Regions from separate parts of the Homo sapiens genome. Here regions 1 and 2 are each linked to region 3. The links are contacts of gene promoters, found by promoter capture Hi-C in human tissues and cell types (Jung and others, 2019). All regions are on one chromosome and are shown on one strand. The core of a region is centred on a gene start or on the middle of the fragment in contact, and the rest is flanking DNA. Distances in the headings are between cores, read along the strand shown. Region 1 overlaps ASH1L (ASH1 like histone lysine methyltransferase). Region 2 overlaps DCST2 (DC-STAMP domain containing 2). Region 3 holds the start of THBS3 (thrombospondin 3).

Region 1 (4,657 bases), core at 1,744-4,243, 130 kb after region 3:
CAAGTTTTTGCACTTACCTAACATTTGATTGTCTAAAAAACATTTCAGTTTTTTTTTAGTCTTTCAACAAAAGAAAGATAAAATGACAGAGCGTAGTGTCTTTTGCTTCTGTTCTCGCATTTTACAAAGTTTTTTTTTCTTTTTCATCTTTTTTAAAATTTTAGTGTTTAACACTATAAAGGAAACATTGAATTTTAATCTCTTTCTTGTCATTTTCTCGCTTTTGACTAAAAGGAGACCCCCAAAGTGCCCCTAGTCCCACCTCCCTCCCACCCACTCCCTGCAATGAAAAACAAAAGAAACCACTCAAACGGGCTTGGACATGCGATTTTTCCAGCTCCACATGTGAGTATCTTATACCCAGGTCTCTTAGTAATGTACAGTGCTTCTCTACAGTAAGAAAATACTCCAAACTATTTTCTTAATTCTCTTTTTTCTTTAATAAAATATTTATTTTGCTTTTTCTCTGCTCAAGGGGATCATTGGCATCCCCTCTCTCTTTTGTTTTTTCCTCAAGAATGACACAGAAAGGGGAAAAAGGAAAAAATATTTAATGGAATGGAAGGTGGTCAATGTGTCTACCTAAACGAGTCAGAGCATCGTCACCATAAGGGGAAATGTACAATTAGGACAGCATTGGTCCAATATTAGAAAAAAGTAATGGGGACATGTTTACTATTGTATTGCTTACCAATCACACAGCAGGTGTGTGTGTGTGTGTGTATATATATACACACACACATATATATATACACACACATACACACATATATATACACACACACACACAACTTGGCACATTTAAAAACCATCTTTTCTCTTATAAGAACATCTAAAACATATATGCATATGTATGTCTGAAAAGACAACAAAGCTTTTTAAATTTTATTTTTAAAGAGACAGTATAGTCTGTTAACTTCTGGTCAAGAGAGTAGGAAGGAAGGAGACACCCTGGATATACCTCCTGATGTCATTCAGGAGGGTGAGGGAAGATGGGCTAGGGGTGAAGAGAAATATACTGTCTCTTTAAGAAAGGGACATTGAAAACTGTACAATTAAGAAAACAAGAGTAGTGTTTTCAATTGATAATCTATACTCACAACAAATACTCTGATAGGTGAATACTGCTGAACAGTTTATGTAGTGACTTTTGTTGCAGGGGTGGGTTTAGAGTTCTTTTTATGTAGGTTTTTAAATGATTTTATTTTGAACTGAATCTCCATTTGCACAGCACAGCAGACACACAAGAACTACAGCGCATTAAAAACAGCATGTGTGCTGGCGGGGGCCTGGCTTTCTCATTAGAAAAAAATATGTTTGACAGGTTATGAAGGGTAAAACAAAAATAATTGCAAGAACTACCGTGCCCTTCTGACCCCATGGGGGCCTTCCCTATCCCATGATTCCATTTTGGGGAGTAGAGGTAGGGAGGGGGCAGCAGTTACAAGTGCTTTGAGCTGTCAACTCACATTTTACTTTGACCTGGTTGGGCAAGAAAGGAGAGACAAACTTCCCTAGTCAGGTATCTAGGAAGAAGCCTCAGCTACTGTTTCTGTTTAAGGTCTCTGGGGTAGCTCTTGGAGCCAACAGAGAATAGATGGGGTAGGAATAGGGATCCTGGCCCTATCCCTTTGGATTTTGAGTTATACCTGGGTATAGGAAGCAGCTTCTTCGCAATGCCTGTGGGATCTGAGGATGACAGAAAAACCTAAGCTGTGGGGTGGGGCAAATGCTATAAAGTACCAGTAGGTTCTGGTCATCAATGTGGTCCTCCCTCCTCTCTACATTATTAACCCTTAAGGTGAAGCAATGGAGAAGAAAATTAATTAACCTGAACTGTCTTGGACAGAACCCTTTCCTCTCCCTCTCCACTAGCTCCAAGGCTTATTAAGTACCTAATGTCAACAACATGGCCCCATTCCCCTTGCCCAGATGGACCCTTCCCACCCCTGTCTATACCCAGAGAGCAGGAGGCAGGACTGATTAGCTCCACTGGATCCCAGATGCTTGAGGTTCTCATTCTTTGAGGGTCACTTTCGAAAGCTGTTTTCTGGGATAAACAAAGTACGCCTTCGCAGTTTCCTGCCTGATCCTTCCTCCAGCAAGTAGGTCACATCAATGGCTGAAAACAGAACCAAGGAGGCTCATCAAAATACCAATCTCCTACTCCTTATTCCAGATTTGAGCTCTAAGGAGAGCACACGAACTCAATGATTCCTTTTCTGACCTATAAGCAATTTAGCCCATCCTCCAACCCTACGTGAAAAAGGTGGTTCTTTAGAGGAGATCATCTCACCTTCCAGTTTCACTACCAAGATACAACTAAAAGCAAGCCTATAAAAGAACTATACCATTTTCTTAGAATACTTTGGATGCTGAACCAGTAATTACAATTTTTTTCCATTCCCTCTCATTTCGCATTTATCTTAAACCCTAGATATGAACCTGATTCTTCTTACCATTTTTTCCAGGGATTTTTTCAAGGAGATTGAGCAAGATCTGGTTGAGTCGTTCCCGTTGGTTATGCCGTCGTTCCTCAGGGGTACAGGTTGACTGGGGTTCTTGACTACTTTCCTCTGTTTTTTTTTCACCCTCACTGACGTTAGCAGTGGCCCCTTCCCGTTCTGGCTCCTCCAGGCTGGGTATCTCATTGGCTGCTTGCTCTTGACTGGCTAGAACCTCTTCAATCAAGGGTAGAGCATCATCCTCCTGGCCCAAGTCTTTTAGGGGTGGCTTTGAGCGCTCAGACTTCCAGGATGATCTGCCAGAAGGATATCTGAATTTAGTGTAAGACACTTGAGGAGGAAAAGGGGATGAAGGGTAGGAGGCCTCAAGATGGCTTGAGATCCTGGAGTCCAGCAGTTAGAGCCTTAGCTTGAGGTAAGAAACTTGACTCTCGTTTTCACTTTATATTATTTGAATAAAACACTACCTTTACCAGAAATTTATTTGTAAAATTCAACTTTTATTATTTCTCTTAGGAATATTCACAAATGGTATAGGAATCCATAAAATATACAAGGGCTAATAAAATTGCTTAGCTGGTTCTAAATGACTGCTTCATGACTAGAGAAGCACGGCACAACCTTGTGATGCCAATAATCCAACTACAATAATAAATATTTAAATGGAGTTTTAAATTTTCGTGCTTCCCTTTTTCATATCAATAGTCTAATATTTTCTCCCTTATGGTAAGCTATTGGTGTAGGTAAAGCAGTTGTTATGCCCCCATTCAACAGATGAGGAGACTGAAGAAAAAGCCTTCTGTCATCTTTCTTCAGGAATAATCCTCACGTACAAAATAAGCAAAAATAAAAACTATGAACCCATAGTTCATAGCTCAGTGAAAACTGTACTGGCTACATCTGTTCCTTGATAGAGGTACCAAGAGCTGATATACCTTGAGGTAATGGGGAAAGCTTACAGACATCTAAAAGAAACTTTTCTGAGTCTGGAGTTCTGTTCCAAATCTCTGTCTCTACTCCCTGCACATCTCTCTGTTGCTCCAATTAAGGCTCCATAATGGGACCACATCTACTGAAATTTAGTTCTTCCATAGTGCTGGCACTACACTGGGCTACTCTGCAGAGAATACCCAGTCCTAGAAGTGGAGCTGAGTGGGTAGTTGTTTGTTTTCTTGATCCATTCAAGCTCTTAGTCAATCCCTTAGGATCCTCATATCCCCCCATGGGACTTACCGTCCTCCATTCCTCTTGTAGTTGTCTGGGACGTAATGAGGCTGCAGAGAAGAAAAGGAAGAGGTAAGCATATTGTAGAAGCTGGGAGAGCTAGCTCTTCTCTGGGGCCAGTCAGGATAAGGAACACAGTAGGGCAGTAGACAAGTTGGGTGACTTTGTTTTAAGATGAGAAATTTAGTACTTCTATGAATATGCAGGCCACAATGATTATCAGCATTTTGTGCTCCCAGGATGACAATGGGAGGGATAAGTGCACAATTTTCTCTATCCCATTTCACCTTTTAAATACAGTCATATGTCGCTTGGGGTCATACGGGGATATGTTCTGAGAAATATGTCATCACGTGATTTGATTGTTATGTAAACATCATAAAGCATCCTTACGCAAACCTAGATAGTATAGCCTACTATACACCTAGGCTATTTAGTATAGCCTATTGCTCCTAGGCTACAAGCCTATATATACAGCACAATACTGTACTGAATACTGTAGGCAGTTGTAATACCATGGTAAGTATTGTGTATCTAAACATAGAAAAGGTATTACATTGCAGTATGTTACGACAGCTATGACATCACTAGATGATAGGAAGGAATTCTTCAGCTCCATTATAATCTTACGGGATCACCGTTGTATATGCAGTCCAATGTTGACTGAAACATGTTGCACATGACTGTAGTTAAGGCTGGGGTTTCAAAGCTAGTCAGTAAGCTATTGATTGAGCAAGCAAAACCAAATAAGTCTAGATGCGAGGAAAGACCTGGTGGTGGGCAGAGAATACAAAAGACGGTCTGGAAAATTAAAAAAAAAAAATAGGGAAAATAGGAACATATTGCTTTGTTTTCTGGTTAGCTTATTTTTCTTTCTTTTTATTTTTTGAGAGTCTTGTCCTGTTGCCAGGCTGGAGTACAGTGGTGCGATCTTGGCTCACTGCAATCTCTGCCTCTGGGTTCAAGCG
Region 2 (4,484 bases), core at 982-3,481, 190 kb before region 3:
CCAGCCGGGCTTCCTGTCAGGCAGGGGAGAATAATCCCCACTCTGCTCTTAGGATTGAATCCACCCCCATTCTGTACATAGCCTCTTCTGTTGGTCTTGTTGAAATCTAGTTTCAGATTTTTAACTACCCAATTCTGCTGGGGGTGGGGGACACCCCCCCTTCCTCGCTGGGTGCTGGACCCCTTTTGCAGCCTGGGCTCTGCCTTGCACTATTTCCCCTTCCTGGCCTGACGGCTCCTCCCCCTCCTTAAAAGGGGCAGGTTCAGGGGCCCGGTGCTCTTCCTCCCTTCCATGCACCCCCATGCCCATTTGCACAGCTGCCCAGGTACCCCTAACAGTGGGGAGGGGTCACAGGGAGGGGGTAGCGGGACCAGTCCCTGTTATCTATTTAAAAAGTGATGATGTAATATATTGGGGTGGCGGGGAGATCGGGTTGTCCTGGGCCTCATCTTAGCATTTCAGGTGATGGGGGGAGCCCAGGGCTGGGGAGACCTGGGGCCCAGCCCCAGAAAGTGGGGACAATGTGGCCTCCCTTCTCCCTACTTTCGGCTTTCCCAGTCAGTGCCTTAGGGGGAGAGGCACTCCCCCCCTCCTATTCCCTTCCCCCCACCCCAACTCCCCCACCTCGGGTGTAAGCGACAGGAAGAAATAATAATAATTTAAGATTCACACTTGTGTCCACTTTTGGTTTATTTGGGGGGTGGGTGGGAAGGATCAGGAAGAGAGGGAGGTGAGAGAGGGACTGAGGGTTCTGAAGCTGGAGTGGGGGCTCCTTTAGTGGCGGAGGATGTCTCAGGTGGTCTGTGGGGCTCAGGGCTGGTGAGAATGCTGACAGGCTGATGGGCTTCAGGTAAGGGCTGCTGCCCGTGCTTCCTCTGCTGAGGCCCCTTCTCCTCATCCAGGTCACTAGTGAGGAGAGGAAGGGGGTGGCCGGATCACCCACCTTCTGTCTTCACAGGTGCATCCCTGCCCCCTGCCCTGCCCCATCTGTTCAGATCCAGCTCCTGTTCTTTCTGAGCAACTCCTGCTCTCTCAGGCCCACGAGGCGTACCAGCCCATGGCTGTAGATATTTTCTGATTTTAGGCTGATGCTGGGGGGTGGGCAGTGACTTGCCTGAGGCCACATGGCTAGGAAGGGCAGAATCACTAGTGACCTCAGTAGTCACACCTGCTCAAGGCTCAAGCTGTCCCCTCTGCTGACCCAGCTTATCCTTTCACTGGGCCCTCTAGAACCTCTGAAAAGAAAGCTTTGCTTCCCCTTCAACCTCTTGACTCATCATGACCTCTACCGCCCCATTCACACTGGAATGTGCCCACTGGACAGTTTTCTTTGCAGTCCTCCCAAGAGGAGGCAGCTTAACCTTCTCAAACCCAGCTGGCCCGTAGTGTTTTTTTGCAAAGCCCCTGGCTGCCATGATAGCTGTACCACCAGTGCTGTGGCTGTCTCCTCAGGCCTGCCAGACACCTGCCACATCTGTTTAAGATGCCGGCTCTGGACTCCTGCTGTTTGTATGGTCCTGCAACCTCGTCGCTAGAGGACCCACCCAATTCTCTGGCCTCTCAATCCCTAACCTCCTTGGTTCTATTGACCGTCATCTCTGTTCCCACTCAGACGTCTTCCTCAGCCTTGGCCTTTCACTGGATTCATTCCAGAGTTCTTCCCTGGCCATGGCCCCCTCTCTGAGTCCCTCCTGTTCAGCCAGCTCTCCCTCCTGGCCACTGCCCCTGCTCTAACACGTCATCAAGACAGAGACCCTGGGCTGCCCCCAGGGGCCTTAGCCCCTCCTCTTCCCCAGTCATCTCAGACACTCTTACCAAAGACACCTCAATTCTCACTCCATCTTGTCCTCCTGACCTGCCCAGAAAAAGCCCTCCACCTGTGAATCCTATTCATGGCTACCACATTTGCCAGAGAAAATCACATAACTGAGCGCACTGGAGCAATCATTACAAGTTACAGCTTCCAGCATCATCTGGGCCTTTGACGCTACCTGGAAATCCCTTAACCTCCCTAGTCGGCTTCTTTGCACACTTGCCACGGCAGGTCTTTCAACCTCTACCACCCACTCCTTGAAACCTTTATTCCACTCCCAGCTGCCTGCTCTGCTCTCTCAGCAGGTGCTCTTGCCTCCTACTCCCCAAAGAGAAGCGAGGCCACCAGGCTGGAGTGGGCTCAGCTGCTCAGGGGAACCTATACTCTCCCCCTCTGCCTCTGCCAGCCTGCTCCTTTCTCAGGCAGGCCACCTGGTCCACCTGGCCCTGGAGCCCAAACCTCCCTCCCCAACGTGCTTTTACACTGCCTAAATGCTCAAATCTTCCTGTTCTTAGATCTAGAAAACCCTTTTAGTGCTGAATCCCCTTCAAGCTACTTTCTTGCTCTGTGAAGCTAACTCTCTCTTTCTCTTCACCATCAAGCTTACATTTTTTTCAAACTACAGCACTCATTAGATTAAAAGCATTATCAAACTCCTGGCAACAGTGATGCAGGAGCCACATACCATATTTCTGAGTCCTTTTATTATTTATTTATTTTGAGACAGAGTCTTGCTCTGTCGCCCAGGCTGGAGTGCAGTGGCACGATCTCGGCTCACTGCAACTTCCGCCTCCCGCGTTCAAGTGATTCTTCTGCCTCAGCCTCCCAAGTAGCTGGGATTACAGGCGCCTGCCACCATGCCTAATTTTTTGTATTTTTAGTAGAGACAAGGTTTTACCATGTTGGCCAGGCTGGTTTCAAACTCCTGACCTCAAGTGATCTGCCCGCCTCAGCCTCCCAAAGTGCTAGGATTACAGGCGTGAGCCACCACACCCAGCCTTTCTGAGTCTTCTTTACCTGACACCCCTCAACCCATCATGACAGATCCAGTTTTGGTCTTCCCGATGCCATGAAAAATATTCCCACAAGCTACTCCAGTGATGTCTTAACTGCCTGTCACCTGTCTTCACATGATCCTACTTGATTTTTTTTTTTTTAATCTTCTAATTTTTTGAGACTGGGTCTTGTACTATTGCCCAGGCTGGAGTGCAGTGGTGCAATCTTGGCTCACCGCAGTCTCAGCCTCCCTGGCTCAAGTGATCCCTCCCACCTTAGCCTCCTGAAAGCTGGGACTAAAGATGCACGCCACCATGCCCAGCTAATTTTTGTATTATTACCTATTTATTTATTGAGACCAATCCTCCCTCTGTCACCCAGGCTAAAATGCGGTGGCACAATCTTAGCTCCCTGCAACCTCCACCTCCCAGGTTCAATCAATTCTCCTGCCTTAGCCTCCTGAGTAGCTGGGACTAACAGGTGCGTGCCACCACTCCTGGCTAATTTTTGTATTTTTAGTAGAGATGGGGTTTCACTATGTTAGCCAGGCTGGTCTCGAACTCCTGACCTTAAGTGGTCCTCCCGCCTCAGCCTCCCAAAGTGCTGGGATTACAGGCGTGAGCCACCATGCCCTGGCAAGTTTTTGTATTTTTAGTAGAGATGGAGTTTTGCCATGTTGCCCAGGCTGGTCTCGAACTCCTGGACTCAAGTGATCGGCCCACCTCGGCCTCCCAAATTGCTGAAATTACAGGTGTGAGCCACTGTGCCCATCCCCCTACTTGATTTCATATGTTTGGCTCTCCTGCTTTCTTGAGCCTCTCCCCTCCCTGTCCCCTCCCACTCTCCTGCCATGCCCTCTGCCAGGATGATCTAGCTCATCCTCTCTCTTACAGTCTCTAACTTAACCCCCCAAAAATATACCTCCAGCCCGGATCCCTGCCCTTTTCTAACTGCCCCCCTGGGCATCTCCAGCTGGATGCCCTACAGACACCTCAAAGATCTCAAACTGGGCCAGTCGTCTTTCCCCAGAACCTGTTTATCTTCCTGCCCTAACACCTGCCCAGGCCCAAGCATAGAAATCCCAGTCACGCTCAGCACTTCAGTACTGAGGCCATCACGAACTTCTCCTAGACTAAGACAAGCTTCTCTCTGACCTCCCTGCTCCTGCCCAACCTCCACTCTGCCTTCTTTGCTTATGGTCTTTTTTTTTTTTTTGGAGACTGAGTCTCACTCTATCATCCAGGCTGGGCTGGAGTGCAGTGGTGTGATCTTGGCTCACTGCAATCTCTGCCTCCTGGGTTCAAGCAATTCTCCTGCCTCAGCCTCCCGAGTAGCTGGGACTACAGGCATGCACCACCAAACCCGGCTAATTTTTGTATTTTTAGTAGAGATGGGGTTTCGCCATGTTGGCCAGGCTGGTCTCGAACTCCTGACCTCAGGTGATCCACCCACCTCGGCCTCCCAAAGTTCTAGGATTACAGGCATGAGCCACCGTGCCCGGCCCGCTTATGGTCTTAAAAGACAAATATGAGCATATCACTTTCCAACCTAAGCTTTTCAAATGACAAGTTAAGGTTCTTGCCCATCTCTTCCCACCTTGACTTCCAACCTCATCTCCCAGCATTCTCTGAGGTCTCTACCCAGCCACACCCATCCCTTGGGCTCTACCCTTCTG
Region 3 (4,317 bases), core at 1,602-4,101:
TCCTCCCGGCTCACCTGCATCCTCAAATACGCCTTCTGTCCAGTCCTAATCTCCAGCCCATCGACCTCCGCTGGAGGAATGGGGGCCAGTGCTGGAAGGCCTGCATGTTGGTCACCCAGTTTGCAGTCCACGTAGAGATGTAGGGCAGGGCTGGGTCTGGAGGGACCTCGGAGTCGCAGGAGAACTGTGTGTGTGCGCCCATCAGCCAGGCCCGCTTGCTGTAGGTTCACGGCGTGGACTTTGCCATCCTCCCGCTGGTATCGCACCAGTACTGCCCAGGAGGGGAGATCAGTATGGGCGCTATCCCCCACCCCCTGCCTCCCAGCTGAGCCTTGGATCAACTCTGCTAGATACCACATCTCTAGGGCCCCTATCCCTAATTCTACTATGTGGCTCTCAACACCTTGTATTTAATAGGTACACAATAAATGTTTTTGAAATTGCTTTAGAGGCCAGGCACGGTGGCTCACACCTGTAATCCCAGCACTTTAGAAGGCCAAGGTGGGCAGATCACTTGAGGTCAGAAGTTCGAGAACAGCCTGGTCAACATGGCGAAACCCTGTTTCTACTAAAAATACAAAAGTTAGCCAGGCATGGTGGTGGGCACCTGTAGTCCCAGCTACTCAGGAGGCTGAGATAGGAGAATTGCTTGAACCCAGGAGGCAGAGGTTGCAGTGAGCTGAGATTGTACCACTGCACTCCAGCCTAGGTGACAAAGCAAGACTCCATTTAAAAAAATAATTGGTTTAGAGACAAATACTTTCTTAGTCTTCATTGGTATCAGATGACTGTATCCTCTCCTAGGGTGACAGCTGGTTTTGTGGCCACTGACCTGTTCCAGGGATCTGAAAGACCTTTCTGTATCACCGCTGAGGCACAGAGACATGCCTCACCCTCCTTCCAGGCATCCCCAAGTACAACCTCCCATCCCTATAAATATCAGGACTCAAGCCTCACCCTATTGTTTGGTACATGGGCTCCTAAAGCACCTTATAAGCACCCCATACCAGGTGCCCCTGATGTCTGGGCACAGCCTGATGGGACCTTGGTCCCTAGTGGAGGCCAAGGAGAATGAGGAAGCACTTGGGAAGTAGGGATGAGGGAGAGTGCTTAAGGAGGTCACCATTGCAAGAAAGGAGATGCCCACCAGTCACCTTTGTTGATCTTGCCTACAACAGAGGCCTCCAGCCATCGAGTGTTGTCTTGGCGAGAATAGAGGCCAAAGAGGACACCACCCTGCTTGGGGGGCAGGCGGAAGGTGGATAAGAGGTAGATGTCCCCAGCAGTGAGCAAGGCTGTCCGGATCTTCTCTGCCACAGCTACCATCTGCCGAGACTCGCCCACAGTCAGCAGGTCAATTACTGGTCAGGCAGGGGTTATCAAGGTTAGAGAATGGGATCAAATGCTAAGGTATGCCCTCCCCCGAGCCCACATCACCCCCTACCCCCACCACCAGGCAGCGTTAGTCACCTCAAAATTCAACCCTTGGCTGGGCATGGTGGCTCGCACCTGTAATCCCAACACCTTGGGAGGTTGAGGCAGGTGGATCGCCTAAGGTCAGGAGTTCGAGACCAGCCTGGCCAACACGGTGAAACCCCGTGTCTACTAAAAATACAAAAACAACAACAAAAAAGAAAAAAAAACCACCTAGCCGGGCGTGGTGGCGGGCACCTGTAATCCCAGCTACTCAGGAGGCTGAGGCAGGAGACTCGCTTGAACCTGAGAGGTGGAGGTTGCAGTGAGCCGAGATCGCGCCATTGCACTCCAGCCTGGGCAACAAGAGTGAAACTCCATCTCAAAAAGACAAAACGAAAACAAAAAAAAACCTCAACCCTTGTTGCTCTCAGAGGACAGAGGCACTGTGCCTTCCTTTCCCCATTATTGCCTATTACTACCTTCCAGGAACCTGCAGGTTTGAGACTCACTTGGAAACACAGAAACAGCACCCCACAAATTTGAGATGCCCCCACCAGGTGGCGCAAAGGAGATGCTGTGCTGATCCCCCACAGGAGTGGCACCTGGTGTCCACAACGTAGAAATGGAAGGCAGCTTCTCTTTCCACTCCTGGGTTTGGCTCGTTCCACACCCTAGTTCCCCTCCTCCCATCCTAGGGGCGCAGCACACTCGCTCTGGATAAGAACAGCTGCCCACTGAGGACTCTAACCCTCCCACCATCTGGGCTATCTCCCACGGGAATGTAGGACCCAGCTCCTCTGCCTCCTGTGTCCTGGCCAATCTGTGGTTTTCCCTCCAGCCAGTAAAGAATCTATGCCTGTGTCATCTGCTCCAGCTACCTCTCCCACATCCATCGGCCCATCCCACCACCAGACCTCCGGGAGAGCCCAGGCTTCTTGGTCCCCACCCCCGCCCTGTCCTTGGGCAGCCAGGAGCCCAGGGGGACGAAGCCCAGGGACCTACAGTACGCCCACCTTCAGGCTGCTCTCCCAGACCCTAGGGTGCCTACAGATGCTCAGGAACCACCCCAGCCAGGCAGCCTGAGCATCCAGTTCCTGAGTCCTCTGCCCTGGCCTCATGCCTGACCCTGTCCTGTTCCAGCTCCCCCACTACTCTCCGGTGCCCACTCCTCTCCACCAGGCCATAATTTCACCAACTCTAGGCAGTCTTAAGTTTTCCTCTGGCTCAATTTCTGGACTCTTCCCCTCTCCCCTTGCCCACATGTTCTCTGCTACTTGGGCTGAGGGCAAATGGGGAAGAAGCAGAGAGCGGTCTAAGAGGATGGAGACAGGCTTACCCTGCAGATCCTGACTGGCAGATGTGAAAAAGCAAAGGAGGAGAAGAGCCAGGGCCCCCCGAAGTTCCTGCGTCTCCATGCCTCTCAGCCGGCTCACTACCCCTGGCAGGCAGGCAGCTGGGAGGGGAAAAGGCTAGGCGGAGAGAGCAGGAGCCGGGGGGCGGAGGGACAGAATTGGAGGGGGGGCCAGCAGGCGGGTGAGGGGGGGCTGAAACAAAGAGCTGCCAATCACCCTGGAGGCATCATCAGCTCTGGGAACCAGGGGCACTGGGAAAGAATCCTGGAGGCCTCCCTGCTTTCTACCTCTCCCTAATGATCCTCCCCCAGGTGCCTCCCTCTCCGCAGTCATCATTGTTGGGGGTCTCGGCACACAGCGCTACCGAATGCCACTGTTTTCTGGAAGCCACGATTGTGGAAGGCAAGAACCCCTGGCAGGGGCAGTGCTAGACAGTGGGCATTATTCCACAGCTGGCAGGAAAGGATGCCAAGGGAGTGGCCGCAACTAGCTTGCTATAGTGCCCAGGGATGCCCACATGGCATGAATTTTGCTGTTCTGGCGGAGCAAGTGCTCTTTATTAGGGTGGGGGGTCCCCTGACAAGTGCCTGTTTCTCCATTTTCCCTCATTCGTAGGAAAGCTTGGGAGTCTGGAAGCGTCTGACGGGAACTGAAGGGAGAATCTAAAGCAGTGGTCAGTGAGGTCAGAGTGAAGAAACCAAAAAAGAGGAAAGGGACACCAGGGACAGGCGCAGAAGACCAGGGGTACAGGCGAGGAGCCAAGGACCAGACTGTGGAACACTGTGGGTACTAGCGGACGGGCCGTGACCCGGATGAAGCAGAGGGGCGCCTGAGTTCCCGTCACCTAAGCGACAGCCTGCGAGCCTCTCTTCCCCTCCCCCACCCAAGCCCCAGCCCGGCCTCCGCTCCGGCCGCCGCCACCGCCCCTGTTTTGTTTCCATGGCGACAGGCGGCGCAGGGCCCGCTCCAAACATAACGCGCTGTGGAAAACATGCTGCTCGGGGGACCCCCCCGCAGTCCCCGCTCGGGGACGAGCCCCAAGGGGCCCTGGAGCAGTACAGGCCACGTGCAGTTTGGCAAGAGCCCCCAGACCTGGCCCAGGCGCACAAGACCCCGCTCTCCAGAGCCTGCCGCGCCTTCAGGGGTTCGGGGCTCCACTTGGACGAGGCGCCGTGACTCTCCGAGGCGCGCCGGGCCGACAGCGCTGTCCCGCTACGTGGGCCACCTCTGGATGGGCCGGCGGCCGCCCTCCCCCGAGGCCCGCGGCCCAGTCCCCCGCAGTTCAGCTGCCAGTCGGGCCAGAAGAAGCCTCGCCTCCCCGGGGATCTCCCCAGGCCCCCTGACCGCAACGATCGGAGGGGCGGTGGCGGGGGGCGGGCCCAGGCAGGGGAGGGCAGAAGCACACAAGGAAGTGTTTCCGGGACAGAGGGTGGGCAAGATGGCGGCGCCCATGGAGCTGTTCTGCTGGTCAGGGGGCTGGGGGCTGCCGTCAGTGGACCTGGACAGCCTGGCCGTGCTGGTGAGGGGTGGCGCCGGCGCCCTCTGCTGT

The links. Contacts are between HindIII fragments. The study calls those that stand out against the background at their distance.
Region 1: a fragment that was not itself captured here is called in contact with the fragment with the promoter of THBS3 in region 3 in 1 of the 25 tissues and cell types used here (neural progenitor cells).
Region 2: a contact is called between a fragment that was not itself captured here and the fragment with the promoter of THBS3 in region 3, in 3 of the 25 tissues and cell types used here (dorsolateral prefrontal cortex, mesendoderm cells and spleen).

The regions. Positions count from the first base shown.
Region 1 is chr1:155,335,630-155,340,286 of GRCh38, forward strand. It overlaps ASH1L (ASH1 like histone lysine methyltransferase), which reads right to left. Exons shown (of 28, transcript NM_018489.3): 26 at 3,699-3,739; 27 at 2,460-2,761; 28 at 1-2,122. The coding sequence ends at 2,031. Among named protein-coding and RNA genes, the nearest start is that of MIR555, 8.5 kb to the right of the region's middle. The HindIII fragment of the contact is 5,423 bases long and covers 283-4,657 here.
Region 2 is chr1:155,017,855-155,022,338 of GRCh38, forward strand. It overlaps DCST2 (DC-STAMP domain containing 2), which reads right to left. Exons shown (of 15, transcript NM_144622.3): 15 at 673-906. The coding sequence ends at 690. It overlaps ZBTB7B (zinc finger and BTB domain containing 7B), which reads left to right. Exons shown (of 3, transcript NM_001256455.2): 3 at 1-669. Among named protein-coding and RNA genes, the nearest start is that of DCST2, 14 kb to the right of the region's middle. The HindIII fragment of the contact is 3,850 bases long and covers 307-4,156 here.
Region 3 is chr1:155,205,046-155,209,362 of GRCh38, forward strand. THBS3 (thrombospondin 3) reads right to left here and starts at 2,852. Exons shown (of 23, transcript NM_007112.5): 1 at 2,753-2,852; 2 at 1,155-1,361; 3 at 15-271. The coding sequence starts at 2,831. It overlaps MTX1 (metaxin 1), which reads left to right and starts at 3,650. Exons shown (of 8, transcript NM_002455.5): 1 at 3,650-4,287. The coding sequence starts at 3,760. It overlaps THBS3-AS1 (THBS3 antisense RNA 1), which reads left to right. Exons shown (of 6, transcript NR_183238.1): 6 at 1-444. RefSeq lists an enhancer at 1,853-2,636 and a silencer at 4,000-4,199. The HindIII fragment of the contact is 12,638 bases long and covers 1-4,204 here.